Linked DNA regions of Homo sapiens: all the other regions are linked to region 1. The links are contacts of gene promoters, found by promoter capture Hi-C in blood cells and fetal thymus (Javierre and others, 2016). All regions are on one chromosome and are shown on one strand. The core of a region is centred on a gene start or on the middle of the fragment in contact, and the rest is flanking DNA. Distances in the headings are between cores, read along the strand shown. Region 1 holds the start of METRN (meteorin, glial cell differentiation regulator). Region 2 overlaps LOC107984906 (a long non-coding RNA gene). Region 3 has its middle 6.3 kb from the start of CACNA1H.

Evidence for each region. The method cuts DNA at HindIII sites, captures the fragments that hold promoters and counts their contacts. A CHiCAGO score of 5 or more calls a contact.
Region 2: a fragment that was not itself captured here is called in contact with the fragment with the promoter of METRN in region 1 in 3 of 17 cell types (naive B cells, naive CD4 T cells and total CD8 T cells); the score reaches 6.8 in naive B cells.
Region 3: a contact is called between a fragment that was not itself captured here and the fragment with the promoter of METRN in region 1, in 1 of 17 cell types (naive CD4 T cells). The highest score is 5.2, in naive CD4 T cells.

Annotation. Positions count from the first base shown.
Region 1 is chr16:713,169-716,484 of GRCh38, reverse strand. METRN (meteorin, glial cell differentiation regulator) reads right to left here and starts at 1,367. Exons shown (of 4, transcript NM_024042.4): 1 at 1,092-1,367; 2 at 501-901. The coding sequence starts at 1,195. RefSeq lists enhancers at 1-556, 557-1,154, 1,753-2,351 and silencers at 609-668, 769-1,198, 1,299-1,608. The HindIII fragment of the contact is 3,687 bases long and covers 1-2,459 here.
Region 2 is chr16:1,109,371-1,112,668 of GRCh38, reverse strand. It overlaps LOC107984906 (a long non-coding RNA gene), which reads right to left. Exons shown (of 2, transcript XR_007064936.1): 1 at 1-3,298. Among named protein-coding and RNA genes, the nearest start is that of C1QTNF8, 15 kb to the right of the region's middle. The HindIII fragment of the contact is 1,716 bases long and covers 851-2,566 here.
Region 3 is chr16:1,145,212-1,148,411 of GRCh38, reverse strand. No RefSeq gene overlaps it. Among named protein-coding and RNA genes, the nearest start is that of CACNA1H, 6.3 kb to the left of the region's middle. RefSeq lists an enhancer at 2,649-3,200. The HindIII fragment of the contact is 202 bases long and covers 1,174-1,375 here.

The sequences.
Region 1 (3,316 bases), core at 118-2,617:
GAGAGCCCATCCCTTTCAGGGTCAGGCGCCAAGCTCCAGGAGAGCCAAGCAAGAGCTGGGCCTGGTGCCCTGCAGGGAGGCGAGCGGCGTCTCCATGGTGACCGGGCTGCACACTGGACTTTTGTTGGTTGGGCTGGGGGAGGGGAGAGAGGTCACCGCTGGGCCAGGGAGCCCCGGACAGCTTTGGCCGGAGGCTTCGATTCTGTCCCCACCATCTCTTCCCCCAACCGTTCAGGGACCAGAGGCCCAGGATTGCTGGGCCCGGCCTCCCCTTCCCTCCACTCTGCCCCTGCCAGCTCTTTCCAGAGATGAATCGGGAAGGGAGGGCGGGGAGGCCATCCCTCCCCAGCAGTCCCAGGCTGTGTGGCCTGACAAGCCCATCCAACCCTTGTAGCTCACTTTTTCCTTCTGCAGTGGGGCCGACAAGGCACATTCCCGCCAAGCCCAGGCAGGGTAAGACTTCGGGACTCCCACCCTGTCCCAACCAGACCGCCACTCACCGTCTACGCCGAGACCGTGGGCCTGCGGGGGCAGCTCGGGGCGCCCGTCCTCGCGCAGCTCAAAGCGGAAGGCGGCCACGCGGCGGCTGATGTCCTGGTGCGGCGTGGCCTGCAGGAAGAGGGCCCGGCGCTCGCGGGGACCCCAGCGCACGCAGCGGCCCCCTGCCGGGCCCGGGCCCTCGGCCAGCAGCAGCTCCAGGGCGCCCCCTGCGCGCTCCGCGAAGACCTGGGCGCCCGCGAAGGGCCGCACCGGCCGCAGACAGGCGATGCCGGGCCGCGCTCTGGGATCGGGGCCGCCCAGGGTCAGGCGCAGCGCCCCAGCCGGGTACAGCCACTCAACCGCGCCCTCCGCACAGGCCAGGGCCAGCTGCCCCACGCTGCCGGGCTCCTGGGTGAGGCCGCTGGGGACAGGACGGGACGGGGCGCTGAGACGGGGGCGGGTCCCCGCCCGGCGCAGCCCCCGCTCCCTCCCGAGGCCGCCTCGCGGATGGGGAAACCGGCCCAGCGCTCTGCGCGCTCCGAGGGGCGCCTGGGGGGTCCTAGCCGCAGCGCACCCCGTCCTAAGTGCGGGGACAGCCCCCCGGACCGTACCTGCCCCTCCAGCTGCAGCGCTCCTCGGAGTAGCCGGCGCGGGCAGCCGGGGCCAGGAGGCCGCAGCACAGCGCGCAGAGCAGCGCCGCGGCCGGGAACCCCATGGCACGGCGGGCGGCGTCCGGGGAGTCGGGGCTCTCACCACCGCTGCCCCGGCGGGGCGCGGGTCCGGGCGGCGGCGGGAGCAGCCGGGGGCGCCGGCCGCCCGGCCCCGGCGAAGCCCCCAAGCCCGCGGCCGCTCCGCCTGCCGCGCAGCCCCAGCGCCGGGGCCGCCTTGGAGCGGGTCGGGAAGGGGGCGGGGCCTGCGGCGTGTCGGCCAGTCGCGGCGCGGCCCGGAACTTTCCGCCAATAGCAGGCGCGGGGCGGAGCGGGGGCGGGGCCGGAGCTCGGGCGCCGCCGGAGGACTATCCCACGGTCCAAGCGCCTCGAGGGTTGGGGGGGGCCTTGGCGCGGAAGGGAGGCTCCTTGCCCGCCCCGCGCTGTGCGTCTCTCCTTCGCCGCGCCCTCACCCTGGCCTCGCCCCCCGCGCTGTCCCGATCGGAGTCCTGGAGCCTCTGATGGAGCCGAGGTTTTGATGTCCACTGGAACCTCGGGGTGGCGGTAGGGAAGGTGGCCCACCTGGTGGTTCCGCCTCGCGGGCGGCCGGGCCTGCTCCTTCCTAACACTGGGACCTGGGCCTGTTGGCCACATCCCTCCCAACCAGGTCCGGTCCTGCTGACCAGAGGCCGGTGGAGCCCCAGAGGAGAGGGGTCATGACTCCAGAGGCGGGGAAGGCCTGGCCTGGGGGCTGCGCCTTGGAGCGGGGCCAGGCCTCGGGTTTTGGTAAGGCCGTCTGCAGGAGGGGGTCCTGCTGAAGAGCGCGCAGCCCGCAGGCTTAGGCCCCTTTCCTCAGACCTAGCGGCACCCCATAGTTGCCGGATGACCGACCCCGGGCCAGACGGGGCTCCTGGAGGGGCGTGAATGGAGCAGCCACGGGCACCCCTGCAGGCCTGCAGCACGTGGAGACACAGGAGCTGGGAGGACACCCCTGGGCCACAGGAGCAGCCCCCACCAAGATGAAACAAGCAGAAACAGGCGATTCGCAAACACACTGTAGCCTCAGGCTGGAGCAGTGTGGGATTCCCAGCATCCGGGACTGCTGAGTTGGCCTGATGGGAGGAAGTGGGCAGTGGCTGGCCAGGTGGACAGGAAGAGAATGGGGGAGAGCAGACAGCCTGGGTCAAGGGCCTGAGGAAGGAGCTCTTGGCAGCCCAGTGAAACCCCAGGGCATGGGTGGTGGGTGGGGACGACAGGTCAGATCACAGAAGGCCTAAGGCACAAGCAAAGGGGTCCCACTACATACTGAACCCCTTACGGACGACAGAAGCTTTAGCCGGGGACTGCAAGGACCAGCATAGACTGTGCAGCCTGAAGATGTGAACATTCCGTCCCCTGCCCCCAAACCTCCTGCCACCCGGCGCTCGAAACTCATGGTGGACAGATGAGTTCACCAGTGGCAGTCGGACAGATGAGGCCAGATGGCTCAGTGGCAGTGGGAGGCTGGATCCCACTGACCAGGCCCTCCCTCAACCCCAGGGCCCTCCCAGGCCAAACAGGAACAAGGCGCCTACTGGGCTCGGCCAGCCCCTTGCTCTGGGCGAGGTGCAGGTCAGAAGTAGCCATCACAATCCCCAAAAGGTGGAAGACTCCCAAAGGCCTGTCTGCAGCTGAGTGGACAAGCAAGTGCAGTGGGTCCATTTTTTTTTTTTTTTTTGAGACGGAATCTCGTTCTGTCGCCCAGGCTGGAGTGCAGTGGCTCGATCTCGGCTCACTGCAACCTCTGCCTCCTGGGTTCATGCCATTCTCCTGCCTCAGCCTCCCGAGCAGCTGAGACTACAGGCGCCCGCCACCACACCCGGCTAAATTTTTGTATTTTTTCTTTTTTTAGTAGAGAGGGTGTTTCACCGTGTTAGCCAGGATGGTCTCGATCTCCTGACCTCGTGATCTGCCCGCCTTGGCCTCCCAAAGTGCTGGGATTACAGATGTGAGCCACCGCGCCCGGCCTCTTTTTTTTTTTTTTTTTTTTTTTTTTTTTTGAGATGGAGTTTCGCTCTTTGCCCAGTCTGGAGTGCAATGGCGCGATCTTGGCTCACTGCAACCTCCACCTCCTGGGTTCAAGCGATTCTCCTGCGTCAGCCTCCCGAGCAGCTGGGATTACAGGCATGTGCCATCATGCCGGCTAATTT
Region 2 (3,298 bases), core at 459-2,958, 400 kb before region 1:
CACCCCTGAGGCCCCACCTCCACGTCCCCTCACACTGGGGTTAGGGCTGAAACAGATGCATCTGAGGGATGCAGCTCAGTCCACAGCGTGGGACCGGCCTCCACTCGGAGGCACAGACCCTCTTTCACACCTGGGACAGCCTCGTCTGTGGCTCAGGACATGCTGGCTGACGCCAGGGTCCGCGGACGGCCCGCGGGAGGGAGTTCTCTCCTGACCTGCTCGTGGCGCCGCGTTTGTCTCCTCAGCAGTGGTTTGCATTCAGCCCGGCCTCCCTGACCCGAGCTGCTCCCACTGTGGCCGGGTGGGCGGTGGGCACCTGGGGCCTGCCGGGGGTGACACTGTCCCAGGAATCCCCCACCAGCTTGGAGTGTCTCTGATGAAGACCCAGGCGGGGCCTCCGCTGGTGCTGCTCCCTCCCCAGGACGACCGAGCCTTTCCCAACTGCCAGGCCTCTGGCCAGCTTCTGGGGGTCCATTCCAGGCCCAGCCTCTCTGCTGCTGGATGCCGGCAGCCTCTGGCTGTCTCGGGCATCGGCTGCAACGGTGTCCCTCCTGTCGCTGCATCCTGACAAGCAGCTGCTTGAACTCCTCCAGGGTCGGAGGGCTCACTCCCTGCGGGATGCACAGCCTTCAGCCCATCGCTGTGTAACTAGAGTGCCTGGTGGCCGCATACCCCACCTCCTGGCACAAGCCGTGCCTCCCGTAGGCCTCTCTGCTCTTGGGGTCTAGACCTCCCTGGGACTGCGCCTGACCCGTGGGGGGACACACAGCCTCTTTCCACTGTTTTCCAATGATAATTTCACTGCGATGTAGCTTGGTACAAATGCCTTTTTCCTTGTATTTAAAAAGCTTCCCCCTCATTTGCAGTCATTTCCTAGGGCTGTGTTCAAAGGCTAGAGTTGCCCACTCAGGTGTGGGAACGGGTTACGTCTCTGGAGCGCGCACTACAGTTTTTTCTAGAAAGCAGGACCGGCCGGGCACGGTGGCTCATGCCTGTCATCCCAGCACTTTGTAAGGCCAAGGTGGGTGGATCATGAGGTCAGGAGTCCAAGACCAACCTGGCCAAGATGGTGAAACCCCGTCTCTACTAAAAATACAAAAGAATTAGCCAGGTGTGGTGGTGGGTGCCTGTAATCTCAGCTACTCAGGAGACTGAAACAGAGAATTGCTTGAACCTGGGAGGTGGAGGCTGAAGTGAGCCGAGATCATGTCACTGCACTCCAGCCTGGGTGACAGAGCAAGACTCCGTCTCAAAAAAAAAAAAAAAGACACCAGGAAGGCGGAGCTTGCCCTCTCACGTTGCCAGGGGTCCATTCCCATGTTTTGAAAGTCACGGTCTTTAAGGCTTTTCAGGTGGGTTTTAGCAGGATTTTAAAAATAATTGGCCCAGTGTAGTGGCTCACGACTGTAATCCCAGAACTTCAGGAGGCCAAGGTGGGTGGATCTCTTGAGCTCAGAAGTCTGAGACCACCCTGGGCAACCCTGTCTCTGCAAAATATATAAAAATTAGCTGAGTGCGGTGGCAGGTGCCTGTAGTTCCAGCTACTTGGGAGGCTGAGATGGGAGACTCGCCTGAGACTATGAGTTTGAGGCTGCAGTGAGCCGCCATTGCACCAGTGTGCTCCAGCCTGGGCCACAGAGTGAGACCCTGTCTCAAAAAAATAATAATGATATACCCAAATGGGTTGAAAACGGGTCTTCAGACAAAAACGTGCACAGACATGATTACCAGAGTGCAGCTCACAGTCTCCACAGTGCAAACACAACTCAGCCAGGAGAGGGGACCGGCCTCAAGTCACCACATCAGGGCGGAGCGGGACACAGAGGACCACATGCTTGAGACTCCTCTTCCACACTGTGCTCAGAGCAGTGAGTTGCGGTTCCCAGCATCTGGGGAGATGGGAGTAACCACGCATGGGCTGAGGGCTTCCTTTTGGGGATGGCAACGAAAGATTCTGGAACCAGATGGCAGCGATGGTTGCACAGTGCTACGAATGTGCCAGACGCCACCACACTGCACGCTTTACGGCAGTTAAAACGGTGAGGTTTCTGTTACGTGATTTACACCAGAATAAAACCATAGCGGTGGCCGCGAGCGGGGGCTCACGCCTGGAATCCCAGCATTCTGGGAGGCTGAACGGGTGGATCATGAGATCCGGAGATCGAGACTAGCCTGGCCAACATGGTGAAACCCTGTCTCTACTAAAAATACAAAAATTAGCCAGGCGTGATGGTGGGCGCCTATAGTCCCAGCTTCTCAGGAGGCCGAGGCAGGAGAATTGTTTGAACCCAGGAAGCGGAGATTGAAGTGAGCTGAGATCACACCACTACACTCCAGCCTGGGCGACAGCACAAGACTCCATCTCAGAAAAAAACAAAACCAAAAAACAAAAAAACAGTGATGATAGTGACGATGATAACAAATGCTTCTCAGGCACCTGCCGCCTGTCGGGCACTGTTCTGTGTCTACCTTCACTCCCAGGCCATGCCCTCACTGTCACTGACTTATGGATGGAAGGCCCAGGCACTGCAGGCAGCTGGCACAGCTGAGGTAGGAAAGTCAAGCTTCCCTGCGTGCTGGCGGGTGGGCGTGGGCTGCAGCAGAACCTGCCTGGGCCTCAGCCCCCTGCCCCTGTTCCCCTGCCCTTTCCTCTCTGTCCCACTCCGTTCCACCAGGCAGAAGTTTCTTCGTGAAGTCACTTTCATATCTATGAGACCATCCATCTTGCTTCCAACGATTCCTCCAATCCCTTCAACACTCAGACATTTATCTTCCCGCTGCAGTCGGGATCTGCAGTCAGGATCAGCGTGTGATCTCATCTCACCCTGGAGTTTTATGGCTCCCTCTGAACGTGGTTTAACTCGGCCGTATCTGGAAGGCCGGTTCCGGGTGGGTGGTGAAGGTGAATGGGACGGCGTCGGGCTTGTCCCCGCGGCCTGGGACTTCCCCAGGTAGGGAGCCAGCATAGCCCCGGGGGGACCTCGGATGGGGAGCCTGTGGGACCGTCACCCTACCTGGCCCTGCGTGCCCAGCCTCCTCTCCCTCCACCAAGCACGCCCAGGACTTTCCCTGGAGGAAACTGCACACCTTCCTGCTTCACCCGCAAACACCCAGGAGGGAGGAACTGTCCTGGTCTCCATTCTGCAGCGGGCAGCTCAGGGCACAGTCTGTGACAGCTCTGGGCCCTGCATGCAGCCTCAGAGGCTGGGGTCTGGACCCCGCCCATACCATGGACCTCAGAGACTCCACTTAGCAGCTCCAGACCACGGTGGGTGGGGGCGTCTTGGGTGCTGGGCCA
Region 3 (3,200 bases), core at 25-2,524, 430 kb before region 1:
GCCGCCTGGGGACCTGGGGAGGGAAGCTCCGGGCCTTTCTCTGGCTCTGCAGACGCACGGCCTGGGTTCAAATGCCAGCTCCACCACTTCCTGGCTGTGTGGCCTTGGACATGTGTCTTACCCTCTCTGAGCCTTAAATTTCCTTCTCTGGAAAATCAATGCTTCATCAAATAAAAAGTGATCATGAACAGGCAGTTCCTCAAATGATTAAATATGGAATTACCATGCAACCTGGCAATTTCTGTTCCGGGTGTGCCCAAGAGGAATGAAAATGTGTGTCCACACAGAACTGTGGACTCGGGTGTCCACAGCAGCATCGTTCACAAAAGCCAAAGGTGTAGACATCCCAAGTATCCCACAGATAAGCAGATAAAATGTGGCCTCTTCATATGGTGGAATATTATTCAGCCATGAAAAGGAATGACACAGCCGGGCGCGGTGGCTCACACCTGTAATCCCAGCACTTTGGGAGGCTGAGGCAGGCAGATCAGGAGGTTGGGAGTTTGAGACCGGCCTGATCAACATGATCAACACGGAGAAACTCTGTCTCTACTAAAAATACAAAAATTAGCCGGGCATGGTGGTGGGCGCCTGTAGTCCCAGCTACTCAGAAGGTTGAGGCAGGAGAATCGCTTGAACCCGGGAGGTGGGGCTTGCAGTGAGTAGAGATCACGCCGTTGCGCTCCAGCCTGGGCAACAGAGCAACATTCTGTCTCAAAAAAAATGACATTCTGACACACGTGGATGAACATTGAAGACATCACACCAAGTGAAATAAGCCAGACACAAAATGACAAACATCATAGGATCATTAGATGAGATTTTCAGCACAGGTAAATCCATAGAACAAAGAGGGGTGGCTGCCAAGGGCTGGGGGAGGGGGGGTGGGGGAGGGGAGACGTCTAGCAAGCAGAGGGTTTGTTTGGTTTGGATGTGTGGCCCCCCCTCCAAATCTCATGTTGAAACGTGACTTCCAGGGTTGGAAGTGGGCCTGGTGGGAGGTGTCTGCACCAGGGGCGGATTCCTCAGGAGTGGCTTGCTGCTGTCCAGTGATGATGAGTGCTTTCTTGCTCCAGTAGTTCACACAGCAGCTGGCACCTCCTCCTCTCCCTGGCACCCTCTCCCTCCATGTGACTTTTGGGTTCTCCTTCCTTTCTGCCATGATTGGAAGCTTCCTGAGGCCTCCCCAGAAGCAGATACCTGCGCTGTACTTCCTATACAGCCTGTAGGACCGTGAGCCAAATCAACTTCTTTTCTTTAGAGATCACCCAGTCCCAAGCATTCCTTTACAACAACACGAAACAGACTAACACAGAAAGGGGTTTATTTTAGGGCGGTGACAGTTGACACCACCATAAAAGCTGCAATCCAAGCTTTTATGGGGGCCAGGCAGGAAGATCATTTGAGCCCAAGAATTTGAGACCAGCCTGGGCAACATACTGAGACCCAACCCCGTCTCTACAAAAAAAAAAAAAAAAAAAATGAAATAAAATTAGCCAGGTGTGGTGGTGGTGCCTGTGATCTCAGCTACTCGAGAGGCTGAGGTAGGAGGATCACTTGACTCTGAGGGGTCGAGGCTGCAGTGAGTGGAGATTGTGCCACTGCACTCCAGCCTGGGCGACAGAGCGAGACCTGCAGAGACGGCTGCACCGCTGGGTGCACTGAAAACTCACCCATAAGTGGGTGAGCCGTCCGTCCGTGTGTGAGCTCCGCCTCAGGCTGTGAAAGCAGTCATGAAGGATGGGAGCCCGCACGTGACAAAGGCTCAGAAAGAGGGAGGCCATTTTTAACAGCTCCCTGTGGGGGCGGAGCCAGAGGGCGTGGCCTCATGGGAGGAGACAGAACCCAGGATGGAGCTGGGCTGGGGGAGCAGAGCCTTCAGCCTGTCCCTTGGGGTCCGCAGGATCTCGGAGGCCCTAGGGGTGGGGCTGCCTCTGGCCTGGGCCAAGGCCTTGAGGCCGGGGTGGACACGTCTGGTTCAGTCTCCTGGACCCAAATGTGTCAGGGAAGCCTCCTCCGAGGGCATGGGGGGCAGGGAGCTGAGTCTGGGGTGTGTGGGGGTGGGCAGAGGGCACGTGCCTGGCAGCACCCAACTCTGCCTGAGCTGCTGAATCCCCCGGATCACTGTGGAGTGGGAAGGAGGAGGGGTTGACCTGGGAGGGAAAGTGACAGGATGGGGTGAGCCCAGGCCGGGTGCTTCCAGACAGACTTCAAGGGGCCGTGGAAGGCGCAAAGCAGACATGGGTGCCCCTCTCCCCTGCTTGGTTCCCTCACCAGCCCCCAGCTCTGCACAGCCCCTCTGCTTGCAGGAAGGGCTGAGCTGGTGCAGAGTCACGGGGTCCTTTCTTAGGGAGTCCTCAAGAGGTAATGCAGCAGGTCCCCCAGATCCCAGGTCTGGCCACCAGACCACCCTCAACACCCCCACCTCGCCCTACCCCAGCCCAGGCCCAGCCCCGGGAGCTCCAAGGAGATCCACACAAGAGGAGCCCCTGAAACGTGGGTCTGCAGGCAGCCCCGGGTCCGTCACCCCTCCAACCCTCAGGTGCCGGGTGCCCCAGCTCTCGGCTCGGCCAGGCGAGGCCCTTGGAACCACAGATGACCACGCGTGGGCCTAGAGTGTGTGTTTTTGGGGGAATTTCACCCGGGGGCTCCTCAGAGAAGGTGCCAGGCCGCCCAGGGACATCTGAGGAACCAGCTGAGCCAGACCCGGGGCGGGGGCCTGTGCGGAGGGGCCGGGGTCAGGCACGGGGGGCGGCCCCCACACCGCAGCTTGCGTCACCTGGGAGAACTGGACAGGAGCCAGCTACGATCCCCAGGTGGCCAGTGGAGGGGCCGGCCCCGCACGCAGTGGCTGCAGAGAGAGGCTTGGCCCCAGCTGTGCAGCCAGGCACTCTGACTCCTGCTCCTTTTGTACTCACCCGGGAGGTTTTTCATCTTTACGGTTAACTGAGTTAAGTCGTCAACTGCCAATATTTAAACAGCCCCTCCCGAGGGAGGCCCCCTCCTGGCTGTGACAAAGGTTGGCATCCACAAAGGCCGCGTAGCTGCCCCGGGGATGGCCATGGGGGTGCCGGACGCCTGTGCCCCCGGGCTGCCCGAGGAGACCTCACGGGCTCTGGAGGCCGCGACCCGACAGCTCCGACAGCATTTATATAATTTATTGCAAATCATTTGTACCTTGTTTAATGCTCTGCTGATTC